Linked DNA regions of Homo sapiens: all the other regions are linked to region 4. Evidence: promoter capture Hi-C in human tissues and cell types (Jung and others, 2019). All regions are on one chromosome and are shown on one strand. Each heading gives the region's core, a stretch centred on a gene start or on the middle of the fragment in contact. The rest is flanking DNA. Distances are from core to core; before and after follow the strand shown. Region 1 holds the start of COL18A1 (collagen type XVIII alpha 1 chain). Region 2 overlaps LINC02575 (long intergenic non-protein coding RNA 2575). Region 3 holds the start of KRTAP10-9 (keratin associated protein 10-9). Region 4 holds the start of ITGB2 (integrin subunit beta 2). Region 5 overlaps POFUT2 (protein O-fucosyltransferase 2). Region 6 overlaps ADARB1 (adenosine deaminase RNA specific B1).

What was found. The method cuts DNA at HindIII sites, captures the fragments that hold promoters and counts their contacts. A contact is called where the count stands out against the background at its distance.
Region 1: the fragment with the promoter of COL18A1 here is called in contact with the fragment with the promoter of ITGB2 in region 4 in 4 of the 25 tissues and cell types used here (IMR-90 fibroblasts, heart right ventricle, neural progenitor cells and 1 more).
Region 2: a contact is called between a fragment that was not itself captured here and the fragment with the promoter of ITGB2 in region 4, in 2 of the 25 tissues and cell types used here (dorsolateral prefrontal cortex and lymphoblastoid cells).
Region 3: a contact is called between the fragment with the promoter of KRTAP10-9 here and the fragment with the promoter of ITGB2 in region 4, in 1 of the 25 tissues and cell types used here (mesendoderm cells).
Region 5: a fragment that was not itself captured here is called in contact with the fragment with the promoter of ITGB2 in region 4 in 2 of the 25 tissues and cell types used here (IMR-90 fibroblasts and lymphoblastoid cells).
Region 6: a contact is called between a fragment that was not itself captured here and the fragment with the promoter of ITGB2 in region 4, in 2 of the 25 tissues and cell types used here (IMR-90 fibroblasts and mesenchymal stem cells).

Annotation. Positions count from the first base shown.
Region 1 is chr21:45,403,497-45,406,750 of GRCh38, reverse strand. It overlaps COL18A1 (collagen type XVIII alpha 1 chain), which reads right to left and starts at 1,586. Exons shown (of 42, transcript NM_001379500.1): 1 at 1,510-1,586; 2 at 1,278-1,372. The coding sequence starts at 1,520. It overlaps BNAT1 (breast cancer associated ESR1 regulating natural antisense transcript 1), which reads left to right and starts at 389. Exons shown (of 2, transcript NR_183526.1): 1 at 389-584; 2 at 2,255-2,945. RefSeq lists an enhancer at 1,731-2,431. The HindIII fragment of the contact is 38,297 bases long and covers 1-3,254 here.
Region 2 is chr21:44,487,730-44,491,162 of GRCh38, reverse strand. It overlaps LINC02575 (long intergenic non-protein coding RNA 2575), which reads right to left. Exons shown (of 2, transcript NR_155204.1): 2 at 21-769. Among named protein-coding and RNA genes, the nearest start is that of LINC02575, 3.9 kb to the right of the region's middle. The HindIII fragment of the contact is 6,132 bases long and covers 1-3,433 here.
Region 3 is chr21:44,625,468-44,628,684 of GRCh38, reverse strand. It overlaps KRTAP10-9 (keratin associated protein 10-9), which reads right to left and starts at 1,592. Exons shown (of 1, transcript NM_198690.3): 1 at 307-1,592. The coding sequence starts at 1,513. The coding sequence ends at 635. The region is part of intron 1 of TSPEAR (thrombospondin type laminin G domain and EAR repeats); the gene reads left to right. RefSeq lists an enhancer at 1,972-2,667. The HindIII fragment of the contact is 22,066 bases long and covers 1-3,217 here.
Region 4 is chr21:44,919,616-44,922,917 of GRCh38, reverse strand. ITGB2 (integrin subunit beta 2) reads left to right here and starts at 2,019. Exons shown (of 16, transcript NM_000211.5): 1 at 2,019-2,097. ITGB2-AS1 (ITGB2 antisense RNA 1) reads right to left here and starts at 1,883. Exons shown (of 3, transcript NR_038316.1): 1 at 1,591-1,883. The HindIII fragment of the contact is 46,650 bases long and covers 1-3,302 here.
Region 5 is chr21:45,269,057-45,272,190 of GRCh38, reverse strand. POFUT2 (protein O-fucosyltransferase 2) reads left to right here. Exons shown (of 9, transcript NM_133635.6): 7 at 2,172-2,352. Among named protein-coding and RNA genes, the nearest start is that of POFUT2, 17 kb to the left of the region's middle. The HindIII fragment of the contact is 5,405 bases long and covers 1-3,134 here.
Region 6 is chr21:45,214,606-45,217,623 of GRCh38, reverse strand. All of the region lies in intron 9 of ADARB1 (adenosine deaminase RNA specific B1), which reads right to left. Among named protein-coding and RNA genes, the nearest start is that of LINC00334, 18 kb to the left of the region's middle. The HindIII fragment of the contact is 3,297 bases long and covers 1-3,001 here.

The DNA of each region.
Region 1 (3,254 bases), core at 337-2,836, 480 kb before region 4:
CTTGGGCCCCAGCGTCTTTCCTTTCCTTTGTCCCTGTGCGATTTAAAACATCCCGCCCAGGGAGCCCTGGTCTGGGCCCTGTGGGCGCTGGCGGCCCGGCTCAGAGGGCAGCTCTGCGGCCTGATTAATGGCCCCGAGTGACCCTGGGCCGCTGTGGGGATGGAGCCGCGTGAGCTCACAGCCGCTCTCCGCCCGTGTTTCACCCCCTAGAGTTCACACAGTAAATGAGGAATTGTCTACGACTCAACAAGCAGGTGTTTTCAATACATCTACTTATAAGCTAGCTACTTTTTTGAAAGGTCTATGCTACTATTTAACCTGGTGACTAAGTCGATTGGAAACAATGAAACAAATTATTACAGGAATCCAGACGACATCCCTCCCTCCCCCTTTCCTGCTTCCTCACCCGCTGTAGCAAGCAGGTGTGGAGTCGAGTCGGAGGCAGGCGCTGGCTGCGTGGACCCCCGGGTGGGATTCCACCCGCGACAAGGCACCCAGGCCCTTTGGGCGGGGCTCCCCTGGGGTCCGCGTCCCCGCCGCCTCCCCCGGGCCTCTGCTGGGCTGGCTGGAGGCAGGAGGCCCCGGTTAGCAGGTGGTGGGGAACTGGGTCCCGGGGTTGGAGGCAGGAAGGTCCCCACGGGCCCCGCGCACCGTTTGCCGCGCACGGGAAGCGGCGAGGCCGGCGGGGCAGCGGCTTCTGGGCATTGTTCTCGGACCGCGCGGCGCTCGGTTGGCATCAAAGGGGACCGCGCAACCCGACACCACGGCGGGCGCGGGGACAGAGGCCTGAGGGCGGCGGGGACAGAGGCGCACAAGGCCCGGCCCGCGGCGAGGAGCCTCAACAGGTTGGAAACGCGGAGACGACGCCCCGCGCTCCGCCGCCTTCCGCCCGCGGTCAGTCCCGGGACCCGGCGCTGCGGGGACGAGGCCGTGACGGCGACAGAGGCCGCGTCTCCCGAGACCCCGCGGCCCCGCCCCGAGCCCTCCCGGCACCGACGACCCCGCCGGCCGCGGAGGTTCGGTCCCCGCGCGGGGACTCCGGCCGCTCGCACCGCGCACCCCTCCCGGCCCGGACCCCGCGGGGAGAATGAATGGGCGGGACTCCGGCCACCCCGCCCCGCTCCGTCCGGCTCCGGCGCCTCCTGCGCGCGTGGGCAGGGCCGGGGCTGAACCCAGAGCGGCCGGGGCGGGGGTGAGGGAGCCGGGCGGGGACCCCAGCCAGGGCGGCGAGGCCGGCGGGCACCGGCGCGAACCTTCCCGTCCCGCCCGGGTCTTACCTGGCTCCGCGGAGGCCGCGCGGACCCCGAGCAGCAGGACCAGGGGCGCGAGCACGTCCAGGAGGCGCCGCCGCCGCGGCCATGGCCAGGGGCACCTGCGCGGGACAGGCACGGGTCAGACCCCGCAGGACCCCCGCGACCCCCGCAGGACCCGGCCGAGCCCCGCGACCCCCGCGACCCCCGCAGCCGCATCTTGGCGTCCCCCAACCCCTGCCCGCAGCCCCGGCCTCACCTCGGCGCCATGCTCTCCCCAGGACCGTCAGCGCCGCGGGATGCTGCCTCCTCCGCCGCGGTGCACCCGCTCGGACCGCCGCGCTGCAGCCGCCGCCGCTGGGAGGCCGGGCAGGGGGCGGGCAGGGGCCGGGCAGGGGCCGGGCAGGGGGCGGGGCGGGCGCGGGCAGGGGGCGGGCGCGGGGCGGGGCCGGGCAGGGGCCGGGCAGGGGGCGGAGCGACGAGCAGGGCAAGGCCCGGGGAGGGGAGAGGGGGGCGGGCGCCGCAGCGGACCTGCGGCTGCGAGGACGGGGCGGGCCGGGACCCGGGGGCGGCGGGGACGGGCGAGGACGGACGGGGACACGTCCCGCCCCGAGGGAACCGCCCGAGGCTGCGACCCAGCACAGGGCCCGGGGGCTGCCCCGCGAGGAAGCCCAGGTTTATGCGGAAGGTGAACACCGCTGCCCGCCGGGCTACGACCCCAGCCCCTGAGTCCGGTGGGGCAGCGGGAAGGGGGGAGATTTGAATAGAGTCACCGCGGGGGGGACGGGACGGAGGAGGAAGCCGGCACCTCCGGCCCGCAAGGCCCCTGCAGGGTCCTGCCCCGGCTGCACGGAGGGACGGACGCGAGACAGGAGGGGCGTGCGAGGGCCAGATCTGTCCCCAGGTCCCCCTGTTCCCAGGGCGCGGCCCAGCAGAGCCTCTTCCTCCCCAGTTCCCAGGCTCCTCCTCCCTCCCAGGTGAAAACCCTGTTTCTATTTCTTCAGGGCCAGCATCCTGAGCCCCACCTGCAGGCCCTGGGCGCTTTCCTCCTGGCAGCTGTGCCCCCACCCGACCGGACCGCTCCCTGCAACCAGAGAGCCCTCACACCAGCAACACCCCCCAGCCTGCTCCCTCCTCGTGTGCGCGAAACTCATGGCACTGGCTTGACGGCTTTCTCTGAAACCCTCTGATTCCGCCTGGCCCATCCACACTGTCCCTTCCCGGCCAGGGCTCATCTCCTATGCCTGGACCAAACAGCGTAGTCTCCAGTCTCCCTGATCTCCCCACACGTGGCCCCACCCATCCTCTGAAGCAGCCCCAGGAGGCAGCAGTGACTTCACACTTCTAGTGCCCGGCCCTCCCGGCCCTCCTCTCTGGGCTTGCTTGCCAGGGTCCTCCCAACCTGACTGCTGCCTCCCACCTCCTCTCCGCCCCTGGAGCTCTCCAGCCGCAGCCGCGGGGCCTGCTTGGGATTCTCCTCTGCTGGCATCATCCCTGCCTGCCTCAGCCTTCCCAGGCCCAATCCTGCCCGATCTCACCTCTTCCCGCCCAGCCACCTGGTCGGGTCCCGACCAGCATCTGCCTTCAAACCTGGAGTCCTTCCCTGAGTGCTTGCGGTGCACTGTGAGGAAGGAAATCAATGTAAAGGATTATGACCCACATTTTTTAAAAATAAAAAGATTAAGGAGAACAGCATAGAGTAGAAGTGGTCATCGCACACTTCTGCAAAACTTTTGTTTCTCAGGTGGATGGAGGAGTGAGTCTGTGTGTGTCTATCAGGGTTTGGTGGTGTCTCTGCAGTGCAGTGGGTGTGTCTGTGTGTCTGCTGTGTGTGTGTCTGTGACCGTACCTTGTGTGCATGTGTGTGCATGTCTCTCTGTGCTGTGTGTGTGCATGTGTGTGTTTCTGTAACTATGTACAGTGTGTGCATGTGTGTCAGCCTGTGTGCGTGTGAGTGTGTGTCAGGGGTGTTCATGTGTCCTGGGTCCTGGTGGCTTCTCCTCC
Region 2 (3,433 bases), core at 666-3,165, 430 kb after region 4:
ATTTTTCTGAGTGCGTAATCATTCATTTACTCAGTGTTTATTAAGACCAACTGAAAAGAGAAAGGTTCCCTTGTCCCCCTCGCAGGGTGTGCGATGGGGGTGTGGCTTGATTCTTCAGTGCCCTGCTGCCCAAACCTCTAGGGGAGCATACAGACAGGCAGGCTCCAACCCCATAGCCGTGTCTAGGGGTGAATGTTTACAGCTGAAGCCCCAGTGGGCGTGTGTTCCAGGGTGCTCTTTTAGTTTTGCCGTCTGTAGGCAGCTTGTGTTAACCAGGTCAATGAGACCCTCTAGTTATCAAAAGGACAGAGGGCTGTCTGTATCCTGGGTTCTTGCCTGGGTGTACCAGAAGAATCGGATCACACCTGGGCTTGGAGAATCAGTGCGAAGTGTTATTGAGTGGAAGCAGCTCTCAGCTGATGGAGGAGCCAGAAGGGAGATGGTTTTCTCCTGGAGTTGAGCTGCTTAGTGGCCTAGCTCTCCTCCGACTGCCCCGGCCAAACTCCGCCTTGGCCTGCCGCTACGTGGCCTGCCGCTACGTGGCCTGCCGCTACGTGGCCTGCCGCTACGTGGCCTGCCGGCGTGCCAGGGTCTGTGGGTGTGCTCTTCCGCCGGCATGCTCCACTGACGTCCTCTCCATGTCCAGCCGCTTTTCTTCTTCCCTTCCACTGATGTGTTTCTCTCAGCATCCGGCAGCTTCTATCTCTGCCTTGCTAGGGTCTCAGGGTTTTTATAGGCCCAGGATGGGGGCATGGCAGGCCAGGGTGATCTTGGAAAATGCAACATTTGGGTGAGAAGGAGAAAGTGCCTGCCCTCACCTAGGTCCGTGGGGGTGGAGCCCTAGCCAGGGACCACACCCTCTTCTACCCAGCACCTCCCTTCTGTATCATTTAAAGAGATGACACTCTTCCCTTCCCCGCACTCCTGTATCATTTCCCCTCTCTGAAAACGTACATCTAACTGCTATTAGAATATGGACGATGACCTGTCTTAGCTGCTTCCCGCTGACAGGGGGCGTTGTTTTTGAGAAAACGGCAGTCAAATTCCTCCCAGAGGTCTGTCTAAGGGTTCCTAGCAAAGGGGAGTCATTATCTGAGGCTCCAGTTGCCTGTCCACTTGGAGTTTGATGGTTCTAGGCATGAGAGAAAAAAAAAAACCCAGGTTTTATAAGGTTAAGTATGCATGGGTTAAACATGTGTGTTATAAAAAGAAAGAATGTACTCCCAAAGATCACAAAGATAAGAAGTGAAATATACTAACAGCAAAGTTGCACCCTGAGCTGTTTCACCCCTGGTGCAAGAAATTAAACCTTGTACAAGAGCAAATAAACTTTAGAATGAAGTAACTATTCTTGCCATATCTTTAGCAGTTAACAGGTGCACCCTGGGAATTCTGGGGTTTGTGGACGTACACGGTGGCCACTGAAGCTTTTGTCTCTTTCCTGTGTCTCCTCTCACTGTCCTGGGCCTCCGTCTCTATTATAAAAGACTGAGGTGGCCACTTTTAGGAGGTCCTCTAATGTACTATCTGGTCCAATGGCCCAGTTTTTGCAACTTCCTCCTGATGTCAGGAGCCGCCTGAGTAATAAAGTTATGCTTTGGGATTCACTGTCCCTCAACTGAACCAGGAGAGAGAGAGGTGAGCTTTACCAAGGCCTCTCTTAGCCTTTCCTAGAAGGCGATTGGATTTTCATCAAATTCCTGGTTGATCATGGACAACTTGTTCTTAGTCTTACGTAAGCCTTCTATTACGCACACCTGAAAGTGTCTCCTCCGCCCGGCTTCCATCTCATGATTGGGGTCCCATTTACGGTCATTCACTGGTACTGCTTCTCTTCCGGTTGGATAATATTCACCCCCTTTCCTGATGCTACATGTGATGCAAAGCTCATCCCCAAATCTCTCTGCAGCTTGTAGAGTGGCCTGTTTCTCAGTGTCTATCACAGTCTGATTCAAAAGTAACATAACGTCTCTCTCCAGGAGAGTTCAACTATTTGGTTGAAATTCTAGAAAGCCTCTATATACCTATGAGGATCATCTGAAAACTTGCCCAGATCCCCCCTTAATTTACTTTAAGTCCTGTAAGGAGAAGGGGACCTGGACCTTGCTGGCCCAAATTCACCAGGCATCTGTTGGAGGAGCAAGAGTGAGACTGGGGCTTGTTTAGAGTGAGAATTTGTAGGAGGGGCCAAGTGAGAGGCTGAAGCTGGATAGGGAGGTCGGGGTGGACCCAGAGGAGCAGGGCTTGAGGGAGCTGGCCTCTCTTTCCGGGGTGCCTCTAGGACTCGTATCTTTAATTCCCTGGGCTTACCCCTTGCAGCCTTCTCTGAGATGGCAAACAGGAGGGCTGGATGAATCCTACACTGTCGGCAAGGTCTGGATTTCCTTGCAAGGTATAGAAAGGCCCTGCACATACGGGGCCTCAGGCCATCTGTCCTCACATCTACAGAAAAGTCTCAACAGCCGAATGGTATGGAAATGAATGATTCCTTCCTAGGGCCAACCCAGTCCTTCATAATTTGGCCAAACCTTTGTGCAGAGGGCTCTGAGGTGTTTCTCCTGCAGATTCTGAGGGTCAAAGCAGTCCCGATGGTTCAGGGTACACTACAGAGGAGTATAAACTGGGGGTGTTGAAGAGAACTGGAGACAGTGAATAGAGAAGCCCCTCATTCTCTTCCTTCTTTCAGCGAAAACTCAGGGTGTGATGGAGAGAGAAAGCGAGCATGATCCTTTCAGTCTCCACTCCTTATCCCTGAGCCCTGGCGACCTTGGCAGGTGCCAGCCATGGGTACTAATGTGGTATGTACCCATGAAGCAGGGAAAACCTGGAGACTAGGAACGAACCGCCCTTGCCTATGCCTCCCTTTCTCCCTGCTGTCGGCAAACCTTCAGTTCCCTGGGCCTGTTTATGCCATGAAGCATGGCCTCCTTCCATAGGGTGGGGGGTTTAGTCAGCAGGAATTGGTGCTACCCATTTACATTGTGCCTGTTCCCTGGCTTTGGATCCCTCAGACCTGTTTTTTCTTTCTAAGACCTCAGCCTGAAGCTTGGAATCGAGTTTGGGACTGAAAAGATATTTTAGAGGCTGGTTCTATCTGTTGAGAGTGTCTCAAATGTGCCCTGCCAAATTTGCAGCTCTCCGCCAGCAGGGGTCGCTGGTCCTCTGCTAACTTCCCCATCAGAAACAGAGTTGGGAGGGGAGCCCTCTCACTTAGAAAAGGAAAAAAGATACAAAAATCAATTCAAGATGGATTAAAGACTTAAACGTTAGACCTAAAACCATAAAAACCCTAGAAGAAAACCTAGGCCCTACCATTCAGGACATAGGCATGGGCAAGGACTTCATGTCTAAAACACCAAAAGCAATGGCAACAAAAGCCAAAATTGACAAATGGGATCTAATTAAGCTAAAGAGCTTCTGCACAGCAAAAGAA
Region 3 (3,217 bases), core at 343-2,842, 290 kb after region 4:
CCCAACCCTTGCCATGGGAAGGAGCTGCTTCTACCCACAGTGAGTGGGGCATTAGCCTGAGTCACGTGGTGTCTGTGGGACTCAGCCAGTGAACAAGGCTTTTGGGCCCCACAGGACCTGGGAGGGGAGCCGGACAGCAGAACGTGCCACGAGGTGGACAGGAGCTTCCAGGTGTCACACAAGAGCCCCCCGAGGCCCCCCAGCTGGGGAAGTAAAGAGATCCACGGGGCCCAGCCCCCCAGAGCCAGGCCAGGCCCCACTCTGCCCCCTCCCGCCCTGGGTGCGGAGAGTCAGCACGGAGTCAGCTGGGGCCGCAGACGCTTTATTGGTGCTCAGGGGCAGAGGGTGACGCTGCTGGGGGTGAGACCCGGGTCAGGAGGGCCCGTCCCCAACCAGCGACCAGCGGAGGGTTGTGGTCTGCAGCCAGGAAGCACCGTGAGGAGAAGCCAGGGCTCGCCTGCCCGGGGGGGAGGTCAGGGAGGAGCCAGTGAGCATCTGAGACCCCGGGGCTGGGCGGCTGTGGCTGGGGCTGCTCCTTCTGTGTTGAGCTGTGCTGAGGCTGGGTGGGCTGGGAGGTCCAAGGACTGGCAGGGAGGTGGGGCCTGAGCCCGGCTGGCCCTGGGGGACATGACCGTCAGCAGCTGGACTTCTGGCCTGAGGAGAAGCTGTAGCAGGCCGGGCGGGAGCACACAGGGCGGCAGAGAAGGGACACACAGGAGGCCTGGCGGCAATAGCTGGGCTGGCGGGAGGAGGTGGGGGCACAGCAGGAGGAGACGGGCACGCAGCAGGCGGGCCTGCACACAGGGCGGCAGAGGAGGGACACAGAGGAGGAGGGTCTGCAGCAGGAGGTGGTGCAGCAAGCCGGCTGGCAGCCAGACTGCTGGCAGCACAAAGAGGAAGCCCCAGAGCAGACAGGCACACAGCAGATGGGTTTGCAGCAGACAGGCTTACAGCAGACAGGCACACAGTAGGACTGCTGGCAGGGGGAGGAAGTGCAGCAAGCTGGCTGGCAGCTAGACTGTTGGCAGCATGAATAGGAATCCTCAGAGCAGGTGGGCGCACAGCACACAGGTTTGCAGCAGACGGGCACACAGCAGGCCGGCTGGCAGGAGGAAGAGGCACAGCAAGCTGGCTGGTAGCTAGACTGTTGGCAGCACGAAGAAGCCCCACAGCAGACGGGCACGCAGCACACAGGCTTGCAGCAGACGGGCACGCAGCAGGCCTGCTGGCAGGGGGAGGAGGTGCAGTAAGCCGGCTGGCAGCTAGACTGCTGGCAGCACGAGGGCGTGCAGGAGCTGGTGCAGCCTGATTGGCAGGGGCTGGGCTCACAGGTCACCTGGCAGCAGGGGCTGGATACACGGCTCACTGGGGTGCAGACCAGGGTCAGGCAGGGGGCCGGGGCGCAGCAGCTGGTGGCGCAGCAGGGGGGCTCACAGCAGCTCTCTGGGCAGTCGTCCACCTGCCAGGAGTCGGAGTAAGCGCTGGAGCGGATGGACATGGTGGACGCGGCCATGCTGGGGTGGGGAGGAGGTGAGCTGGGGGAGGTGTAAGTGAGTGTGTGAGTGTGTCAGTGAGTGAGTTTGTGAGTGTGTGAGGTTCTTGGGGCTCTCAGGCTTTTATACCCCTCCTGGCCTTGTTGTTCCAGGGCCCACAGCTTCCCCTTCCTTGTTGCTGAGAGGCGGCGTCTGCCATGATTAGGGATGTTTGTTTGCTGGTGACATTGCCCAGCTCACAAATCTCCTGTCACACCTGGGCTATAGTCTGTTGCATGTGGAACCTCAGGGGCAGGAGTTGGGGTGGGCCTGATCCCAGCTGGGTTCTGGAGGCAAGGACGGCTGTGGGCGTCTGGTGGGTGGGATGTGGGTGGGATGTGCCTGGGGCCATCTTTGGTTGCTGGGGCATCGTCCAGCCACTGGCCCCAGCAGCCTCAGGACACGGGCTTCCTCTGCAGGAAGCCGGCCCTTAGGAATTATTTCCTGTGGTGCAAACTCCTCCTCTAGTATGGTCCTTCCCCTGCTGTAGGACACAGGACTCGCCAATTTCTAATCCCCATGGCCTCTGTGCCTCCTGCCCTCTGTTCATTGCCCACCCTGTCCTTTGCTTGGGAGGCAGCAGGACTCTGTTCCAGGGCAGGGATCGTGGGCTCAGCCCACTCCTTGCTGAGGCACAATGGCAGCATCGTGGGCTGTGGTTTCGGGTTCTGAACCCGTGAAGTAGCTGTGCTAGGCAGCAGGCAGCCGCCAGCCCTCGCCACTGCTGGAGCCATCTCCTCCGTGTGCCCTGCACTGCAAGCATCTTTTTCTCACCAGCCCTGCCCACAGGCCCCATCACACACCCCCAGGTCAGCCACAGGCAACTCTCACGGCTGCATGATCTTTGATGATGAATTGTTATCACCACAGGGCATGATGAAGTCCCGAGCTTCTTGCCTTATAAAATGGCCCTGATCACTTTCCAGGAACATTGCTACCCAGCAGCTAATTATAATATTGATTGTGATTTCACATTTTTATTTAAAAATTCAAGTACACATACGCATATTTCATTATAAAGTAAGACGTATTACACGATGTTGAGTAGAACGTCTTTGTTGCTGTGAATCTGGCAAAGCTGGAAACGGCCTCTCATTCTAAAAATAATGCTAACATTCTGGGTCAGACCTGTCCCCACAGGGTTTCTAAAATAAGACAGAAGTTGACCAGCTATGGCCAGCTGCCACACCCCACCAGTGCTGCCCAGGTTGTAAGAAGGAGGCTGTGGAGGCAGGGGTGGCCCTTCAGTCTTACGCAAAGTGTGGTGTCCCAGGGAGAGAGTCCTCCAGCTACTGTCCCTGGGGGTGTCTCTAAAGTGGGTCCTCACTGAAGAGGCAGAAGCAGCTGGTAGAAGCACAGGATCACTGGAGCAGCCGGAGAGAAGGTGCAGCAGTGGCCAGTGAGCCCCACAGTGGTGGCCCTGCACATTCCTTCCCCCGTCCCCATCACTGAAGAAATTAGAGCCCAAAACAGGGAGAAGGGGAGCAAGGAAAGAGAGGCCATGCCGCTCCCCGCGGCCTTCCCCGAGGTCCACTCAGACTTGCATGTGGGAACGCTGGGGATAGGACTGGGTTTCAGACAGGATAGAAAAGTTTTGAACTGGTCCATTTTGGGCTATGGATTTGGTTCTGCTCTTTCAGGCCATAGCTTTATGATACGCTTCAATCATAGATAATTCAAGTCCC
Region 4 (3,302 bases), core at 770-3,269:
TAAGTCTGTAATGAGAAGATACCCTTGACAGAGAACATTTCATTGGAACTTGTTTTGTCTCTTTATTTCTAAAACCCAACGCAAGACCTTGTTGATTTAAAACAAGAAAATGTAACCCATTCACAGGTGCTGTGATTCCTGATGGGTTTGAAATTATTCCCAATGTTTTATTGTTTGGTTTTTATTTACCTTTCTTGTTTGTTCTATTTTCCCTTACTTTTTTCTTTTAAAGGATTTGCCTTTTTTTTTTTTTTTTTTTCTCAGTTACCCAGACTGGAGTGCAGTGGTGTAAGCATGGTTCACCGTAGCCTCAACCTCTTGGGCTCAAGCAATTCTCCCACCTCAGCCTCCCAAGTAGCCTGGACCATATCGCGTGCTACCATGCCTGGCGAATTCTTAGAAAATTTTTTTGTAGAGATGAGGGTCTGGGTCTCCAAATGTTGCCTAGGCTGGTCTCGAACTCCTGGGCTCAAGTGATCCTCCCACCTCGGCCTCCCAAAGTGCTGGGATTACAAGTTTGAGCCACCATGCCCAAAATAAAGATTTGTCATATTTTTTTTCAGGTATATACATGCTATTTTTATTCTTAAGGAGACTCTTGAATTGTTAGCATATATACTTAGATATTTTCTATCAAAATGCCCACTGACAAGCATCTATATTCCTCCCCAGATAGGATGGAACGGCAATGTGCTCCCTGGCCCCTCCCAACCCAGTCCTCTAGGCGTTTTGTTTCACAGCGTTAATATTCTTACCACTATTTTTTAAATCAACAGGTTATGACATCATAATTTTTACTTATTTCTTTGCCCAACTTTGTATCATCTGCTCTTGTATTTCTCATGGATTTCTTCATGTCTATTTCTGCAAGACATCTTTAAAACAGAGTTTAGGAGCCGGGAGCCATGGCTCACGCCAGTAATCCCAGCACTTTGGAAGGCAGAGGTGGATGGATCACTTGAAGCCAGGAGTTCAAGACCAGCCTGGTCAACATAGTGAAACCCTGTCTCTACTAAGAATACAAAAATTACCCAGGCGTGGTGGTACATGTGCCTGTAATCCCAGCTACTTGGGAGGCTGAGGCAGGAGAATTGCTTGAACCCGGGAGGCAGAGGTTGCAGTGAGCTGAGATCACGCCACTGCACTCCAGCCTGGGTGACAAAAGCAAAACTCTGTCTCAAAAAAAACTGAAAACATAAAAATAAATAAATAAATAAAACAGAGTTTAGGGTAGTAATGTGTCTGAGTCCTTGCTCTGAAGATGTCTGATTTGGGTTTTTTTTCTAGGTATAATCTCTTTCCCTCCTCTTCCTCCTCCTCCTCCTCTCCCTTCTCTCTCTCTCTGAGCCTGTAGTATTTTCCCTTTCGTGTTCTGTGGTATCCTCCTAATGTCCCTAGTTAACAGGACCTCATCCATCCATCCCTGGGGTGTTCAGTGGCCTCGCAATCCACGTCCCCGCCCAGATCCGCAGCCTTCCTCCTGTGACCTGAGTGTCTCCTCCTCGCTGTCCCTGTTCTGTCCCCTCCCGCCCTCACATGCAGGTGGATGTCAATGCGTGCACGCACCCAGGTTTTCTTGCCTGTTCCCACCTCTTTATCCTCCTTGGCTGGTTCCTCCGCTCCATTCTCTGGCTCAGGAATTTGCTCCCCAGGGTTTTTCATTCCGCTCTGTAGCAGAATGTGCTACTGTTGCTTTCCAGCATCAAACTTTTCACTCCCATGGCCTCTGTGTTCTTCTTCCTAATGGGTGCCCTTTCTGCCTGGCGCTCCTGGAGGCCGGGCCCCTCTCCCAAGTGTGAATCTGATGGAAGCAGGTCCTTCTCGCCGGGACCTCATGTGAGAAATGACATGTCCCACCTGTCTCAAGGGGCCGCTCTCTGACATCAGAGCTGCTGTAGAGCGGAGAGGGGCAGGGGTGAAGGGCCACGGTGGTGCAACCCACCACTTCCTCCAAGGAGGAGCTGAGAGGAACAGGAAGTGTCAGGACTTTACGACCCGCGCCTCCAGCTGAGGTTTCTAGACGTGACCCAGGGCAGACTGGTAGCAAAGCCCCCACGCCCAGCCAGGAGCACCGCCGAGGACTCCAGCACACCGAGGGTGAGTGTGCAGAGGCCCCGCTATGTCCACGGTGATTTTTGGAGGGAAGCACTCTCCTGCCCCAGCCTGGAGTGACCCTGGTGGCCCTGCTTATAGCCCCGGCCCAGGGGTGTCTGGCAGGAAGGGGTCTCCAGACCGTCTGCTCCAGGGTCCCCTTTGAGACCCGGCAAGGGGAAGTGCCTGCCACCAAGAGCAGAGCCACATGGTGTGCTGGGAGCGCTTGCGGCTGAGGATGGGGCCGGCATGGGAGGACAAGGGGCTGTGAGGCCGGCAAGGCCAGGAAGAGGCTGGGCCCACAAGCCCCTAGGGGGACGGCTGGGGGGTCCTGGTGCTCCGGGCTGGGCAGGAGGCAGGTTCCCGGGGCCTCCTCTGTGAACCTGCTGCGCCTGCCTGTGTTAGGCCCTCCTGTCTGCATGCTGCCCCGCCTGGCTACAGCGATTCCATCTCCAGATCGACTCGCAGTGTGTGGTGTGTGATATGGTGTGGTGTGGTTCGTGGTGTGTAGTGTCGTGTGTGTAGTGTGGCATGGTGTGCATGTATGGTGCACGTGTGTGGCATAGCGTAGTGTGGTGTGTGTGTGTGCATGTATGGTGTGCGAGTGTGCGCATGTGATGTGGGGAGTCTGTTGTATGTACATGTATGGTGCACATGTGTAATGTAGTGTGGTGTGGTGTGGCACATGCTCCATGCTCCTCTGGGACCCTCGAGCTTCCCTGCCTCCTCCGTGGGGACCCCTGGGTGACGTCTTGCTGTAGGGGAGCGGGCACCGCTGTGCGATTCTGGTCGAGTTGGTTCAGCTGGTGACCCTGGCCTCCCCACAACAGGCTCCTGGAGGCCATTCCCAAGGTCCTGGTGGGAGGGGGATTGAAGCCACGCCCCTGGGTCCCAGGCCCACCTGGCCCCCTTCCCCCAACACTGCACTCTTGGGGCCAGCCCTCCCCATGCATCCTCCACCCCTGGCACCACCCCTTGCACCACCGTCCCCACACCCAATCCCCCCTCCCCTGGATCTGGGAGCTGGGATTCTGCCCTGCTGTCCCTGTCCATCCGGGGCCCCTCTCCTCTGTCAGTTCCTGGGTGGGGAGAAGGAGGGGTGGCATGGCTGCAATGGGGAAGGGGGGGGATGGCCGGAGAGCTCAGCCTGGGAGCGAGCTGTGGGGGCATAGGGGACACTCGCTGTCACTCGCCTTCCCCGTGACGGTGGC
Region 5 (3,134 bases), core at 266-2,765, 350 kb before region 4:
TGTGTGAGTCCTTATGTGTTAGGTCAGTCTCTTGAAGACTTTTGCCTCACAGCTTTCAGGTGGATTTTTTTCCATTCTGCCATTCTGTTTCTCTTAAGTGGAGTCTCTAAGCCATTTACATTCAACTTTGGTATTGAGGTGTGAGGTACTGTATTCTATTCATCATACTAGTTGCTGCCTGAATACTCTGTTTTCTTTCTTTTTCATTGCGTTGTTTTATATGCCCTGTGAGATTTATGCTTTAAGAAGGTTCTATTTTGGCGTATTTTGAGGTTTTGTTTCAAGATTTAGAACTTCTTTAACATTTCTTGTAGAGCTGGCTTTGGGAGTGGTGAATTCTCTCAGCATTTGTTTGTCTGAAAAAGATGATCTCTCCTTCATTTATGAAGCTTAGTTTTGCTGGATATAAAATTCTTGGCTGATAATTACTTTGTTTGTGGAGGCTGAAGATAGGACCCCAGTCCCTTGTAGCTTGTAGGTTTCTGCTGAGAAATCTGCTGTGAATCTGATAGGTTTTCCTTTATAGGTTACCTGGTGCTTTTGGCTCACAGCTCTTAAGATTCTTTCCTTCATCTTGACTTTAGATAACCTGATGACTGTGTGCCTAGGAGATGATCTTTTTGTGATGAATTGCCCAGGTATTCTTTGAGCTTCCTGTATTTGGATGTCTAGATCTCTAGCAAGACCAGGTAAGTTTTCCTCAATTATTCCCTCAAATAAGTTTTCCAAACTTTTAGATTACTCTTCTTCCTCAGGAACACCAATTATCCTTAGGTTTGGTTGTTTAACATAATTCCAAATTTCTTGGAGGCTTTGTTCATTTTTTTTACTATTCTTTTTTCTTGTTTGTTGGATTGGGCTAATTTGAAAACCTTGTCTTCGAGCTCTGAAGCTCTTTCTTCTCCTGTTCTAGTCTATTATTGAAACTTTCCAGTGTATTTCGTTTCTTTAAGTGTGTCTTTCATTTCCAGAAGTTGCAATTGTTTTTCCTTTAAGATACCTAGTTATCTGGAGCATTTTTCATCCATATTGTTGTTGTTGTTTTTTTTTTAATTTCTTTAAGTTGGTTTTCACCTTTGTCTGGTATGTCCTTGAGTAGCTTAATAATGAACCTTCGGAATTCTTTATCTGGCAATTGAGAGATTTCTTCCTGGTTTGGATCCATTGCTGGGGAGCTACTATGATCTTTTGGGGGTACTATAGAACCTTGTTTTGTCATATTATCACAATTGCTTTTCTGCCTGCTTCTCATTTGGGCAGACTACTTCAGTGGAAAGATCTGGAACTCACGGGCTACTGTTCAGATTCTTTTATCCCACGGGGTGCTCTGTGGCGCTCTTCGCCTTCCCCTAGGGATGGGGCTCCCTGAGAGCTGGGCTGCAGTGATTGTTATTGCTCTTCTGGGTCTAGCCACCCAGTGGGGCTACCAGGCCCTGGGATGCTGCTGGGGAATGTCTGCGGAGAGTCCTGTGCTGTGATCCGTCTTCGGGTCTCCCAGCCATGGGTTCCAGCACCTGCTCTGCTGGAGGTGGCGGGGGAGTGAAGTGGACTCTGGGGGGGTCCTTGGTTGTAGTTTTGTTGAGTGCACTGGCTTTCTCGAATGCTGGTTATGCTGCAGTGAAGTTGTCACGTGGACAGACTCGGGACCTGTGGACAGCCAGGAGGTTGCAGGTGGTGGGATTAGCTGTTGCTTTCTCCTTCCTTGGAGCAGGGTTGTTGGTTAGAATTTGCTGTAGCCATTTGCGTTGGTGGCCTCCAGCCAGGAGGTGGCACTGTCAAGAGGGCAGCAGAGCATTCTGGCTCCCGGGGAGTTTGCAGCTGTGAGCTGCTTTGTCCACAGGATCCGTGAACTCTTTGTGGCACGTCCCTGCGGTGGTTCTCGGAGGAAAAGTTCACAGCGTGAGCCTCCACATGCTGTTCTCTTTTTAAATATTTTTCTTTACCTCAGATAAAATGATTTCTGGTAATTAATACTGCTTCACTGTCTTCTTAGAAAGACATCTGGTCGCCCCCGAGATTCCACCTGAATCCCTTAGACAGCCCTGGAGCCACCCCGTGGAGGAGGCCACATGGAAAGGGTCATCCCTCTGCGTCTCGAGTCCCACCCGGTGCCCAGGATGAGCCCCGAGCCCGCCTGTCAGCTTCTGCATTTCCTTGTGGTTCTTTGCTAGGTCAAGCTGGGCTCCGCGCTAGGGGGCCCCTACCTGGGAGTCCACCTGAGAAGAAAAGATTTCATCTGGGGTCACAGACAGGATGTACCCAGTCTGGAAGGGGCCGTGAGGAAGATCCGCAGCCTCATGAAGACCCACCGGCTGGACAAGGTGTTTGTGGCCACAGATGCCGTCAGAAAGGGTATGGAGCTTCAATGCTTTCGTTTCTTTCCTTTCTTTTAATTTATTTTTTTTATTGATAATTCTTGGGTGTTTCTCACAGACGGGGATTTTGGCAGGGTCATGGAACAATAGTGGAGGGAAGGTCAGCAGATAAACAAGTGAACAAAGGTCTCTGGTTTTCCTAGGCAGAGGACCCTGCGGCCTTCCGCAGTGTTTGTGTCCCTGATTACTTGAGATTAGGGATTGGTGATGACTCTTAACGAGCATGCTGCCTTCAAGCGTCTGTTTAACAAAGCACATCTTGTACCGCCCTTAATCCATTTAACCCTGAGTGGACACAGCACATGTTTCAGAGAGCACAGGGTTGGGGGTAAGGTCACAGATCAACAGGATCCCAAGGCAGAAGAATTTTTCTTAGTGCAGAACAAAATGAAAAGTCTCCCATGTCTACTTCTTTCTACACAGACACGGCAACCATCCGATTTCTCAATCTTTTCCCCACCTTTCCCGCCTTTCTATTCCACAAAGCCGCCATTGTCATCCTGGCCTGTTCTCAATGAGCTGTTGGGTACCCCTCCCAGACGGGGTGGTGGCCGGGCAGAGGGGCTCTTCACTTCCCAGTAGGGGCGGCCGGGCAGAGGCGCCCCTCACCTCCCGGACGGGGCGGCTGGCCGGGCGGGGGGCTGACCCCCCCACCTCCCTCCCAGACGGGGCGGCTGGCCGGGCAGAGGGGCTCTTCACTTCCCAGTAGGGGCGGCCGGGCAGAGGCGCCCCTCACCTCCCGGACGGGGCGGCTGGCCA
Region 6 (3,018 bases), core at 104-2,603, 300 kb before region 4:
ATACAAGAGGTTTTTTTCTTATTATTTAAATTCCTTTAAAAGATAATTATTAAGATGAAAATAATAAGATGTGGATTTTTTTAACACATGCAAAAGTGTCTGAAAACAATACCACAAAGGTTGGGAATGGAAAAACGAAAGTATCCTGTTGTAAGGTTCTTTTACTATATGTGAAGTAGTATAATATCACTTGAAGGGAGATCGTGGTAAGAATGCATACTATAAACCCTAAAAACCACCACCAAATTAACAAAAGTTACAGCTCAAAAGTCAAGAAGGAGTCAAAATGGAATCATCAAACACACCCAATTAAGGCAAAAGCAGTAAGAAAATGAGGAAAAAGTGAACAAAGAACATATGAAACACGTAGAAAATAAGTAGCAAGATGAAATTTAAACCTAATAATATCAATAATCACAATAAATGTAAATGGTCTAAGTACCTCAGTGAAAAGGCAGAGATTGTCCATGGTGGGAGAGAGAAGCAAGATCCAAACATATAAATATATATAAATATATGTCTATAAGAAACATATTTTTAAGATAAAGTACTTTAATATAAAGGGATAGAAGATACACTGTGCTAACACTAATCAAAAGAAAGTTGAGGAGGTTATATTAATCTCAAAACAAATTTCAGAACAAACACTATTACCAGAAATAAAGAGGGTCATCATATAATGGTAAAGGAGGTCGGTTTATTAAGATAAACCAACAATCCTACATTTTTATGCATCTAATCACAGAGCTACAAAATACAGGAAGTAAAAACTCTAAAAAAGGGGAAGAAATAGATAATGTACAATTATAACTAAGAGATTTTCAATCCTGCCTCTCAATAACTGATAGACCAAGTAGAAGATCGGTAAGAATATAAAAGAAAATAAATAGTATAATCAAACAACTTGGCCTAATCAACATTTACAGATCACTCTACCCCAAAGTGGCAGATTCACATTCTTTCAAGTTTTGTGGAACACTTATAAAGATAGATCATATTCTGGTCCATAAAACCAAGTCTAATAAATTTAAAAGGACTGAAGTCATTAAATGAAACTAAAAAACCAACAACAGAAAGATCTCTGTAAAATCCCTAGTATTTTGAAACTAAATAGCAGACTTCTAAATAACCCAAGGGACAAAGTATTTTAATATAAGTGAAAATGAAAACATATCATAATTTTTAAATGCTACAAAAGCAGTAAAAAGGGTCTTAAAACAATGACCTCAACTAGCACCTTAAAAAACTACAAAAAGATGGGCAATTGAAACACCAGGTAAGCGGAAAAAAAAGAAATAATTAAAATCAGAGTAAAAATTATTGAAATATAAAACAAAAGACAAAAATCACTGAACCTAAAAGTTGGCACTTAGAGACAAACAGAATTGAAAAACTTCCAGCTAGACTGATCAGAAAAAAACAACCAAGAGAAGATACAAATCATCAATATAAGGGATAAGACGATATCATTAGAGATATCACAGATATTAAAATGAATATTCTGAATGCTTTTATGCCAATATATTAGACAAATTAGATGAAATGGACAAATTCCCTGAAAGACAAATTACTGAAGCTTACTCAAGAAAAAAGATAAAAACAGATAACATGAATAGCCCTAAATCTATTATAGAAAAATAAATTGTAGTTAGAATTTTCTTACAAAGCAAACTTCAGGCCCAATGGTTTCACTGGTGAATTTAACCATATATTTAAAGAAATAATACCAAATCCAAACAAACTCTTCCAGAAAACTGAAGAGAAAGAAATGCACCCCAACTCATTTTATGCCTGACAAAGACATTAAACTAAAATGATAGCCCAATATCCCTACAGACAAATATAAATACAAAAATTCTAAATGAAATTTTAGCAAACTGAATCCAACAATATATAAAAAGAATAGCACATAATAACCATATAACGTTTATCCCAAGATGCAAAGTTGGTTTAATTTTTTTTTAACGTCACCACTAGCAAACTGAAAAATGAACTAAATGCTCATCTCATTTTTTGTTGTTGTTGTTTCAGATGGGGTCTCACTACATTGCCCAGGATGGCCTCAAACTCCAGGGCTCAAGTGATCCTCCTGCCTTAGTTCCCAAGTAGCTGGGACTATAGGCCTAAGTCACTGCAATGACAACAGTCATCTAAGAGCAGAAAAAAAGCATCAGACAAAATCCAGCATACATTCTTGATTAAAAACGCTGAGTAAGCTATAAATAGAAAAAAAAAATGTCTTGAGCTGATAAAGACATCTGTAAAAAACCTACAGCAGCCAGATATGGTGGATCATTCCTATAATCTCAGCACTTTGGGAGACTGAGGCAGGCGGGTTGCTTGAGGCCAGGAGTTCAAGACCAATCTGGGCAACATAGGAAGACATTGTCTCTATAAAAAATTTAAAAATGAACCAGGCATGGTGGCATGCACCTGTAGTCCCAGCTACTCAGGAGGCTGAGACAGGAGGATCACTTGGGCCCAGGAGTTTCAGGTTACAATGAGCTATGATCACGTTACTGCACTCCAGCCTGGGTGAAAGAGTGAGACCTTGTCTCTAAAACAAAAAACAGCAATAAAAAATCCTACAGCCAACATCATACCTAATGGTGAAAGACTGAATGTGTTCCCCCAAGATGACATGTAAGAGAAGGATGTCTGCTGTCATCACTTCTACTCAACATTGTACTGGAGGTCCTAACCAGTGCAATAAGGATGTAGAACTGATGAGTGGACTATAAAATTGCTATGGAAATACAAAAAGGACCTAAGCAGCCAAGACAACTTTGAAAAAGTACAAAGTTGGAAGACTAACTCTACCTGACCTCAAAACTTATAATAAAACTATAGTAATCATGACAATGTAATACTGGCCTTTAGACAAAGAGATTAAAGGCAAACAACAGAGTCCAGAAACAGACCCACATGTATATATACATGCCAGCTGATTTTTGACAAGGGCACAAGGCAATTCCATGAAGAAATGAGGAACCTTTCACTAAATGGTGCTAAATCAAC